Linked DNA regions of Homo sapiens: region 1 is linked to region 2. Evidence: promoter capture Hi-C in 16 types of primary human blood cells and fetal thymus (Javierre and others, 2016). All regions are on one chromosome and are shown on one strand. The core of a region is centred on a gene start or on the middle of the fragment in contact, and the rest is flanking DNA. Distances in the headings are between cores, read along the strand shown.

The links. The method cuts DNA at HindIII sites, captures the fragments that hold promoters and counts their contacts. A CHiCAGO score of 5 or more calls a contact.
Region 1: a fragment that was not itself captured here is called in contact with the fragment with the promoter of QNG1 in region 2 in 2 of 17 cell types (naive CD8 T cells and neutrophils); the score reaches 5.1 in naive CD8 T cells.

The regions. Positions count from the first base shown.
Region 1 is chr9:84,066,723-84,071,538 of GRCh38, reverse strand. It overlaps LOC101927575 (a long non-coding RNA gene), which reads right to left. Exons shown (of 9, transcript NR_110995.1): 2 at 4,112-4,244. Among named protein-coding and RNA genes, the nearest start is that of RMI1, 88 kb to the right of the region's middle. The HindIII fragment of the contact is 2,886 bases long and covers 366-3,251 here.
Region 2 is chr9:83,955,339-83,960,610 of GRCh38, reverse strand. QNG1 (Q-nucleotide N-glycosylase 1) reads left to right here and starts at 3,869. Exons shown (of 4, transcript NM_032307.5): 1 at 3,869-4,447; 2 at 4,971-5,230. The coding sequence starts at 4,111. The HindIII fragment of the contact is 8,080 bases long and covers 911-5,272 here.

The sequences.
Region 1 (4,816 bases), core at 559-3,058, 110 kb before region 2:
AGATTGTACATTTTTTTCAGATACTTATGAAACATTCACCAAGACAGAGTGTATCCTATAGATTTCAAAGAGTTGAGTCATGCAAAGTATGTTCCCTGACTGTAATGGAATTAAGCTAGAAATCAATAATAGGAAGATAACAGGAAAATCTACAAAACACTTGGAAATTAAACAATATACTTCTAAATAATCCATGGGTCAAAGCGGAGTTATCAAGGGAAATTAGAAAATATTTTTAACTGAATAAAATAAAACTACAATATATCAAAAATTATGGAATGAAATTAAAGGAGAGCTTAGAGGGAAATTTAAAGCATTAAATGCTCACATTAAGAAAGAAGGTCTCAAATTAGTTCATTTAAGCTTCTACCTGGAACAAAATAAATCCAATGCAAGCACAAGGAAGAGGATAAAAAAGTTAAAAGCAACAATCAATGAAACGGAAAAAAGAAAAACAGTAGAGAATATTAGTGAAACAAAGAGGTAGTTCCCTTTAAGAGATCAATACGATTGATAAGTTTCCATCAAGACTAAAAAAGAAGATCAATAAAACGGATAAACCTGATATGGTCTGGATTTGTGTCCCTGACTAAATCTCACGTAAAATTGTAATCCCCCTGTGTTGGAGGAGGAGCCTGGTGGGAGGTGATTGGATCCAGAGGGTGGATTTCCTCCTTGCTGTTCTCGGGTTAGTGAGTGAGTTCTCACGAGATCTGGTTGTTCGAAAGTGTGTAGCACCCCCACCCTCGCTCTCTCCTCCTCCTGCTCCAGCCGTGTAAGGCATGCCTCCTTCCTCTTCACCTTCCACCATGATTGAAAGTTTCTTGAGGCCTCCTCAGCCATGCGTCCAGTATAGCCTACAAAACTGTGTGAGCCAATTAAACCTTTTTTCTTTATAAATTACCCAGTCTCAGGTAGTTCTTAATAGCAATTAGAGAACAGACTAATACAAACTTCTAGCAACACTGACAAAGGAAAAAACAGAGAAGTCACAAACTACCAACATCAGGAATAAAAAGGGTGACATACCGTAGAAATTAAAAGAATAATAAGAGGATGTTGCAAACGATTCTACACACATAAATTCAATAACAGATAAAATGGAGCACTTCTGCAAACCACAAACTAACAACTCACTCAAGATGAAATAGAAAACCTGGGGAAAATTGAATTAGGAGTTAAAAATCACCTGAAAAAGAAATCTTCAGGCTCCAGGTACTTAATTGATGAATTCTACCAAAACCATTAAAGACGAAATGGCCAGGCATGGTGTCTCACCTCTGTAATCCTAGCACTTTTGGGAGGCCGAGGCTGGTAGATCACTTGAGGTCAGGAGTTTGAGACCAGCCTGGCCAACATGGTAAAACCCTGTCTCTACCAAAAATACAAAAATTAGCTGGGAGTGGTGGCACGCACCTGTAGTCCTAGCTACTAGGGAGGCTGAGGCAGGAAGATCACTTGTAACCCAGCAGGCAGAGGTTACAGTGAGCCAAGATCGTGCCACTGCACTCCAGCCTGGGAGACAGAGCAAGACTCCGTCTCAAAAAAAAAAATTAAGAAATAACACAGATTCTTTTTTCTTTTTTTTTTTCTGATGGCATCTCACTCTGTCACCCAGGTTGGAGTGCAGTGGCGCAATCTTGGCTCTCTGCAAGCTCCGCCTCCCGGGTTCACGCCACTCTCCTGCCTCAGCCTCCCAAGTAGCTGGGACTACAGGCACCCGCCACCACACCCGGCTAATTTTTTTGTATTTCTAGTAGAGACGGGGTTTCACCATGTTAGCCAGGATGGTCTGGATCTCCTGACCTTGTGATCCGCCCGCCTTGGCTGGGATTACAGGCATGAGCCACCGCGCCTGGCGAAATAATACAGATTCTAAACAAACTTTCCCAGAAAATAAAAGAGAAGGGAACACTTCCCAACTTATTTTATCAGGCCAGCATTACTCTGATACTAAGTCCAGACAAAGATATTACAAGAAAATAAAATGATATGCCTTATGAATATTTTTGCAAAAACACTCAATAAAATATTAGCAAATTTAATCCAACAAGATATAAAAAAGAATAACATACTTGTTCAACATGCAAACATCAATCAATGTAACCCATCATTATGACATTCTAAAGAAAACCACATGATCCTATCAATGTATGCAAAAATATCACTTGGCAAAATTCAATATTCATTCGTGATTTTAAAAACTCTCAGCAAACCGAAATAGAGTGGAACTTCCTTAACCTAATAAAAGGTATTGTCAGTGGGCTAAATTGTGTTACCCCAAAATTTATGTAATGCCCTAATCCCCAGTACCTCAGAATGTGACTGTGTTTGGAGACAGAACCTTTAAAGAGGTAACTAAATCAAAATGAGGCCGTTAGGGTGGACCCTAATCCAATCTGACTGTCGTCTCTATGAGAAGAGGAAATTTGGACAAACAGAGAAGCACCAGGGATAAGCCCGCACAGAGGAAAGACCATATAAGGATATAGCGAGAAGGAGGCCGTCCACAAGCCAGGAAGAGAAGCTCCAAAGAAAATAAACCTGCCTACACCTGGTTCTTGGACTTCTAGGCTCCAGAAATGTGAGAAACAAACTTCTGTTATTTAAGCCACTCAGTTGATGGTACTTTGTTATGGAAACCTTAGCAAACTAATACAAGTACCTACAAAATATCTACAGCTAACATTATATTTAGGGATGAAAGGCTGAATGATTTTTCTCCCAAGATCAGGAATAAAGCAAGAATGTCTGCTGTCATTGCTCTAGTGCTTACGAAGAGGAGAGTTCAGGTGATTTATCAAGGTAGCCCATTCCAGAGATGTTATCTCCTCAGGTCAATACCCCCCAAGACCAACTACACACACACACACACACAAACACACACACATATACACATACACCTGTTATCTGGATGTCTTAGTTAAAACTAATTTTCACCCACAATATCAAAATAGTTGCCTCAATTCACTTTAAGTGTCCAGAAGCAGCTTGGGCATAATGAGGAAAACGGACAGGGAATCAAATTAGCAGCAGGATTATGAGGTCTGCATAAAAGAAAACTTAAAAAGGAAAGAAGAATTTCAGGGCACTCATATATGAAAATTACAGCCTGCACATCCCTGCAGTGTTATAAAGGGTCAGAGTGCATTTGATGGAGCTTTCTAACCATTATGTTCTCTGGTCATAATATAATATCTGTATTCTAATTAAAAAGGAGAAAAGGATGATTATTTAAAAAGCATAAAGCTTCTTAGAAACCTCAGTTTCTGGCATTTATTTGAAGGTTTCTACTCTCCCCACATATAATGTATCTGAGCAATTTAGAACTATATCTAACAGGCTCCACTTCACATCTACTCTTGCAAGAAAACGGTTTCATGCAAAATGTGAAAATTGCAGCCGGAGCCATTATGTAAGCTACTTAACCTATAGTAGGGGAGGTCTACATGCTATATGTTGCTCTGGATTGTCATGGAAAAAAAAGGTTCAAAAGAAAATAAGGATTATGTTCTGAGGCTGTTTTTCCCTGAGGCTCTTTAAACAATGCCTCTATCTGTTCCCCATTTTCCAATTGTCTTTTCCAGAGATGTGGCAATAATTTAGTTGTATTATGTGCTGTCACTTCTGCATTAATAAACACCAGGACCTGCTGAGTAATTACAGAATAACCTCATAATAAAATGCAGTGAAGAGCTCTAATTAAATGTTAATGTTGCTTAAAACTATCCTACTTTAAAATGAAAATTTTCCATCCATGTATCCTAATGAGTTATCAGAATGCATTACTCCCAAATAAAATGTACAAACGAGAAGGTAAACATAAAATATTACCACCAGTAGGCATGTGTGTGGAAACATTTATAATCAAAATTAATATACTACATTAAAATTACTGAAATATAAATGCATACCAAAATGCTGTAACAACAATGGGGGAAGATTTTTATGAAAGCTCATGCTTCACTTTGAAAGGGAAAAATGCCAAATTATTCTTCAGTCACGTAGTAGGCAATAGAGGTTAAAGCTACTTCTGAACATGGGACTAACACAAGTTAAACTAAGAACATCTACAACTTCTATAAAATAATAGAGCTAAAAGAAAACTCACTGTCTAATTGAAGAAACAAGGACTTCCATTTACTTTATTCTTTAAAATCTGCCAAGAAGGGGTTCCCCTCCCATATTATGTTGCTCTGCTTCTTCACCCACACATCATCCTTCTGGGCATTTAGTGTGCTGACCTAGGTAGACATGGTGAAAATCTATTACTCATAGGTATCTATATAAACCCATTACTCTTTTTGTTTTTTGTTTTTTTTTTTTTTGAGATGGAGTCTCACTCTGTCACCCAGGCTGGAGTGCAGTGGCACAATCTTGGTTCACTGCAACCTCCGCCTCCCATGTTCCAGCGATTCTCCTGCCTCAACCTCCCAAGTAGCTGGGATTACAGACGCCCACCACCACACCCAGCTAATTTTTTATCGTTTTGGTAGAGATGGGGTTTCACCACATTGGCCAGGCTGGTCTCAAACTCCTGACCCCAAGTGATCCACCCACCTCGGCCTCCCAAAGTGCTAGGATTACAGGCGTGAGCCACTGTGCCCCGCCCAACCCATTTCAATTTTCATATCACAGGAAGAAAGTCACAATCATTCCTCCTTCCTTTACATTGCCGGAATAAACAAGTCAATCCATTTAGTCTTTGGAAAAGACCTATCCCCCAACTCTTCTGCCATTATCTGCTGAAATCTGCTATACATTCATCTCACATTTCTGTCAAACCACTTATACTGCTACTTCTCATAGGCCTAAT
Region 2 (5,272 bases), core at 2,620-5,119:
CCGAGGCAGGCGGATTACTTGAGCCCAGGAGTTCGAAGCCAACCTGGGCAACACAGCAGACCCCATCTCTACAAAAAAATTAAAAATTAGCTGGGTGCAATGGTACATGCCTGTAGTCCCAGCTACTCAGGAGGATCACTTGAGCTGGGGAGGTCAAGGCTGCAGTGAGCTATGACTGCACCACTGCACTCCAGTCTGTGTGACAGAGTAAGACCCTGTTTCAAATAAATAAATAAAGCCTATGCCTACAGGGTACAGCTTCTGCCAAAGATTTATCTATCTCTATCAGGAGATAGAGACCATCCTGGCTAACATCGTGAAACCCCCGTCTCTACTAAAAAAATACAAAATATTAGCCGGGCATGGTGGCGGGAGCCTGTAATCCCAGCTACTCGGGAGGCTGAGGCAGGAGAGAATGGCCTGAACCCGGGAGGCGGAGGTTGCAGTGAGTGGAGATCGCGCCATTGCACTCCAGCCTAGGCGACAGAGCGAGACTCCGTCTCAAAAAAAAAAAAAAAAACCAAAGTCGGGTGTGGTGGCTCATGCCTGTAATCCCAGCACTTTGGGAGGCCGAGGTGGGCAGATCATGAGGTCAGGAGATCGAGACCATCCTGGCTAACCGGGCATGGTGGCGGCTGATAGAACCGGGGCGGGGGGGCGGCGGGGGGCTGAGGCAGGAGAATGGCGTGAACCCGGGAGGCGGAGCTTGCAGTGAGCCGAGATCGGGCCACTGCACTCTAGCCTGGGCGACAGAGCGAGACTCCATCTCAAACAAAACAAAACCAAAAAACAAACTCAGGTTGCCATCAAAAGGACTGCAGCAATTCCAGGCCTTACATTCAAGGTCAATCAGGTCCAGAGGGAGCCTGAATCACTTCTGAAAATTCTCCTGGAAGAGTGAGGAAAAGCTTTTCTGCAAGCATTCTGCAAATCTTGCAACTCACTGAGGTGAACTGGGAAATATGCATAAACCTAATCCAGTTGCTGGCAAGAGGGTGATATTACCAGTCCTGACTACCCTTGAGTCTGAGGATGCTAAACTAAGCTACAAGGGAGTGCAGTTGAGAGATGGATTCCTAAACAGTATCACAGTATCTATTGGGAAGGAAAAAGCAGGAAAACCATGTTCAGTAGGTGAAGAACTCACTTTTTTTTTTTTTTTTTTTGAGACAGTGGGTTGCCCAGATTGGAGTGCGGTGGTGCCATTTCAGCTCACTGCAACCTCCGCCTCCCAGGCTCAAGGGATCCTCCCACCTCAGCCTCTGGGAGTAGCTGGGACTACAGGCTCCAGCCACCTGGCTAATGTTTTCTTTTTCTTTTTTTTTTTTTGTAGAGACAGGGTTTTGTCATGTTGCCCAGGATGGTCTCGAATTCCTGGGCTCAAGTGATCCTTGGCCTGCTAAAGTGCTGGGATTACAGGCCTGAGTCACCACGGCCAGCCCAACTCATTTTTGTATTCTCAGCATCTTGTAGACACACTTAAAAAAACAAAAACAAAAATCCCAGACACACACAGTTTTGATTTATCTCAAAGTTGAGTGAAGGAGGCATGTTTTATTCTTGTGTATACTACTTTTAGTGCTTAAATACCTTGAACATAGGCAGGAATTTGACTTTTTGGGTGGGAGGGGGAACGGGGGGGGGTCTCACTTTTTCTCACAGTCTGGAGTGCAGTGGCACAATCTCACCTCACTGGAATCTCTCTGCCTCCTGGGCTCAGACGATCCTCCCACCTCAGCCTCCCTAGTAGCTGGGACCACTGGCGCATGCCACCACACCCACCTAATTTTTTGTGTTTTGGGTAGAGACAGGGTTTCCCCATGTTGCTCAGGCTGGCCTCGAACTCATGCACTCAACTGATCCACCCACCTTGGCCTCCCAAAAAGCTGGGATTACAGGCGTGAGTCACCACATCTGGCCGGCATTTGACTTTTTTCTATCAATAAACCTCAGTGAGAGAAAAGGGTCTAAGTTATTTACCCTTCTGGATTATTTTGCAGATTGCTAGATTTCCTTGCTAAATCAATTTGTCTCCCAAGACTTAGGTGCTGTGGTAGAAAGGAAAAATCCCAAGCCAACAGACTTACATTTCCTTAACAACTGTATTAATGTACTAGTGACTTTTTCTGGAAAACGTATCATAGTGGAGTCCTTAAAGTTCCTTTTTCTTACCAAAATGAAGAAACTGGAGTGATGAAGATCTGCTTTTCTAGGGTAACAGCTGTCAAATTTAAAAGCTCCATTTGGGGCCAGGTGTGGTGGCTCATGCCTGTAATCCCAGCATTTTGGGAGGCCAAGACAGGCGGATCACCTGAGGTCAGGAGTTCGAGATCAGCCTGGCCAACATGGTGAAAACCTGTCCCTACTAAAAATACAAAACTTAGCCGGGCGTGGTGGCGGGCACCTATAATCCCAGCTACTCGGGAGGCTAAGCCAGGAGAATTGCTTGAACCCAGGAGGCGGAGGTTGCAGTGAGCCGAGACTGTGCCACTGCATTCCAGCCTGGATGACAGAGTGAGACTCCGTCTCAAAAAAAAAGCTCCATTTGGGAGGCCGAGGAGGGTGGATTACCTGAGGTCAGGAGTTTGAGACCAGCCTGGCCCACATAGGGAAACCCCATCTCTACTAAAAATACAAAAATTAGTCAGGTGTGGTGGCTGACACCTATAATCCCAGCTACTTGGGAAGCTGAGGCAGGGAGAATCACTTGAACCGGGGAGGTGGAGGTTGCAGTGAGCTGAGATCATGCCACTGCACTCCAGCCTGGGCGACAGGGTGAGATTCTGTCTCAAACAAACAAATTTAAAAGCTCCGAATCCTCCAAAAATACCAAGATTTTCCTGTCGGTAACTAGAGATGGGTACTGATGATTATTTTTAATAGGTGATTTTCAAAGATGTGAACGTTATCCATGGAGATTTAAGTCTCCAAAAGGAAAAAAAATGCATACCTTTATACTAAAACTTCATCACCAGTCAAATTTGGATCATCACTAAATTGGCTTCTACACCTCTCTCCTAATATAAGGTACTTGTGTAAGTTTGCAGTTGTGAGACACTTATTTCCTCATTTTTAATGTCTTCTCAGTAGGGCCACTGATATAGTCACTATTTGACTGACCAGAATGGTTGGCACTGGTGATTGGCTCATAAAGTGCCCTCGATTTAGGGGGCTCAATTATCAAAGGTTTAAATCCTAGCCCAAACCATTGCTGTGATGGGGGTTAATCAATGAACCACTCAGCTTCACTTGCAAAAGCGGGATCACAATAGCCGCTTTCGTCATGACCCAGCCTAGGTGAGATTTAGTACTTAAGTACACTGCCAGGCACACAAGGTTAATTTAACAATTTAACACATTTGTTTCCTCATCCATTTCTCCAAACCTTCCAACTAATCCTAACGTTCGTTCGGCCAAATGGGCCAGGAATTCACTTAAACAAAAACAAAAAACAAAACAAACAAAAAAACACTCCCTGGGGCTTGGGGAAGGAGGCACCGCCGCCCATGTCGCAGTCTGGGGGTGGCTCAGTCCTCAGCACCCAGATCTACGGCCATAATGCTCTTCGAGGCCAAGGAGCCCGGATGCGGGGCGTTGCCGAAGGCGTCTTGCTCAGGCTGCGGGAAAGGAGAGGGGTGGGAGCGGGGTGGGGGCATCGCGACCCAGGGCAAGGCGGCGAGTCGCCGTCTTCGAGTCCCACCTGTCCGAAGCGGGGTGAGAAAAGGCAAAACATGGCAAAGCCATGCACCTCCCAGGGTGGGCAACTCACGGCCGGTGAACGCCGGACCCTTAGCAGTTTCCAGACCTTTGGAACCGGAAGCGGAGCCTGAGAGCGCGCCCGAGAGGGCGTGAACGGGACCGCTTTCCCGGAAGTGCTTGCGGCCTCTGCCCAGCGAGCTGCCCCGGGGTCTCTCTGGTTTCCTAATCAGGGCAACGCCGCGGGAGAGAACCTTTACCTTGGCTGCACTAAGTTCTCGGTGCCACTCCCTGGCAGGGCGGGACCTTGTTTAGGCCCTGTGATCGCGCGGTTCGTAGTAGCGCAAGGCGCAGAGTGGACCTTGACCCGCCTAGGGCGGGAAGAGTTTGGCCCGCCGGGTCCCAAAGGGCAGAATGGACGGGCTCCTAAATCCCAGGGAATCCTCTAAATTCATTGCAGAAAACAGTCGGGATGTGTTTATTGACAGCGGAGGCGTACGGAGGGTGGCAGAGCTGCTGCTGGCCAAGGCGGCGGGGCCAGAGCTGCGCGTGGAGGGGTGGAAAGCCCTTCATGAGCTGAACCCCAGGGCGGCCGACGAGGCCGCGGTCAACTGGGTGTTCGTGACAGACACGCTCAACTTCTCCTTTTGGTCGGAGCAGGACGAGCACAAGTGTGTGGTGAGGTACAGAGGGAAAACATACAGTGGGTACTGGTCCCTGTGCGCCGCCGTCAACAGAGCCCTCGACGAAGGTTGGTGCCATACTTGCCATCGGACCTAACGGCCTTTGAGGTTTCCATTTACTTGGGGTGTGTGTAGGGGAGTTCCAAGGAGCGGGTTGGGAGATGGAATAATGGAAAGCGAACCTGAAGTTCGTTGCAAGTCCTTATGCTTAAAATAGAAGTATGAAAAGGGGCATATTTTAGTGGAAAATGATGTTAATATTTATCATTGCAGCATAAAAGTTACAGTAGCATAAAAGTCAGTTTTATAAAGAATGCCATTTGAATGACACCTGAAGAACAAAAGGACCGATGTTATAAAGCAATTTACTCAGAATACATCTGATGTAATATTGCAATAGTTAGAAATGGGTGAATAAGTACAGATGAACAAGTAGAAAATGAGTTTTGCTTTAGATTTTTTATTCTTCCACTTTTGGTGCATTCCTATACCACTCATTTGGTTTCATATTAATTCCATGTTGTAAAAGCAAGGGTTTAATGCATATGGAAGTATGACATTGGTCCTCTGAATTTTATTTTTTCACTAAAGGGATACCAATAACTAGTGCCTCGTACTACGCGACAGTGACCCTGGATCAGGTTCGGAATATACTTCGTTCTGACACAGACGTTTCCATGCCTTTAGTAGAAGAGAGGCATCGGATTCTCAATGAAACCGGGAAAATTCTGCTGGAGAAGTTTGGAGGCTCTTTTCTCAACTGCGTCCGAGAAAGTGAGAATAGTGCGCAGAAGTTAATGCACCTGGTGGTTGAAAGTTTTCCTTCTTACAGAGATGTGACTCTGTTTGAGGTGAGTTGCTTCTGTTGGGGATTTTAGAAGTCTTAATCATCT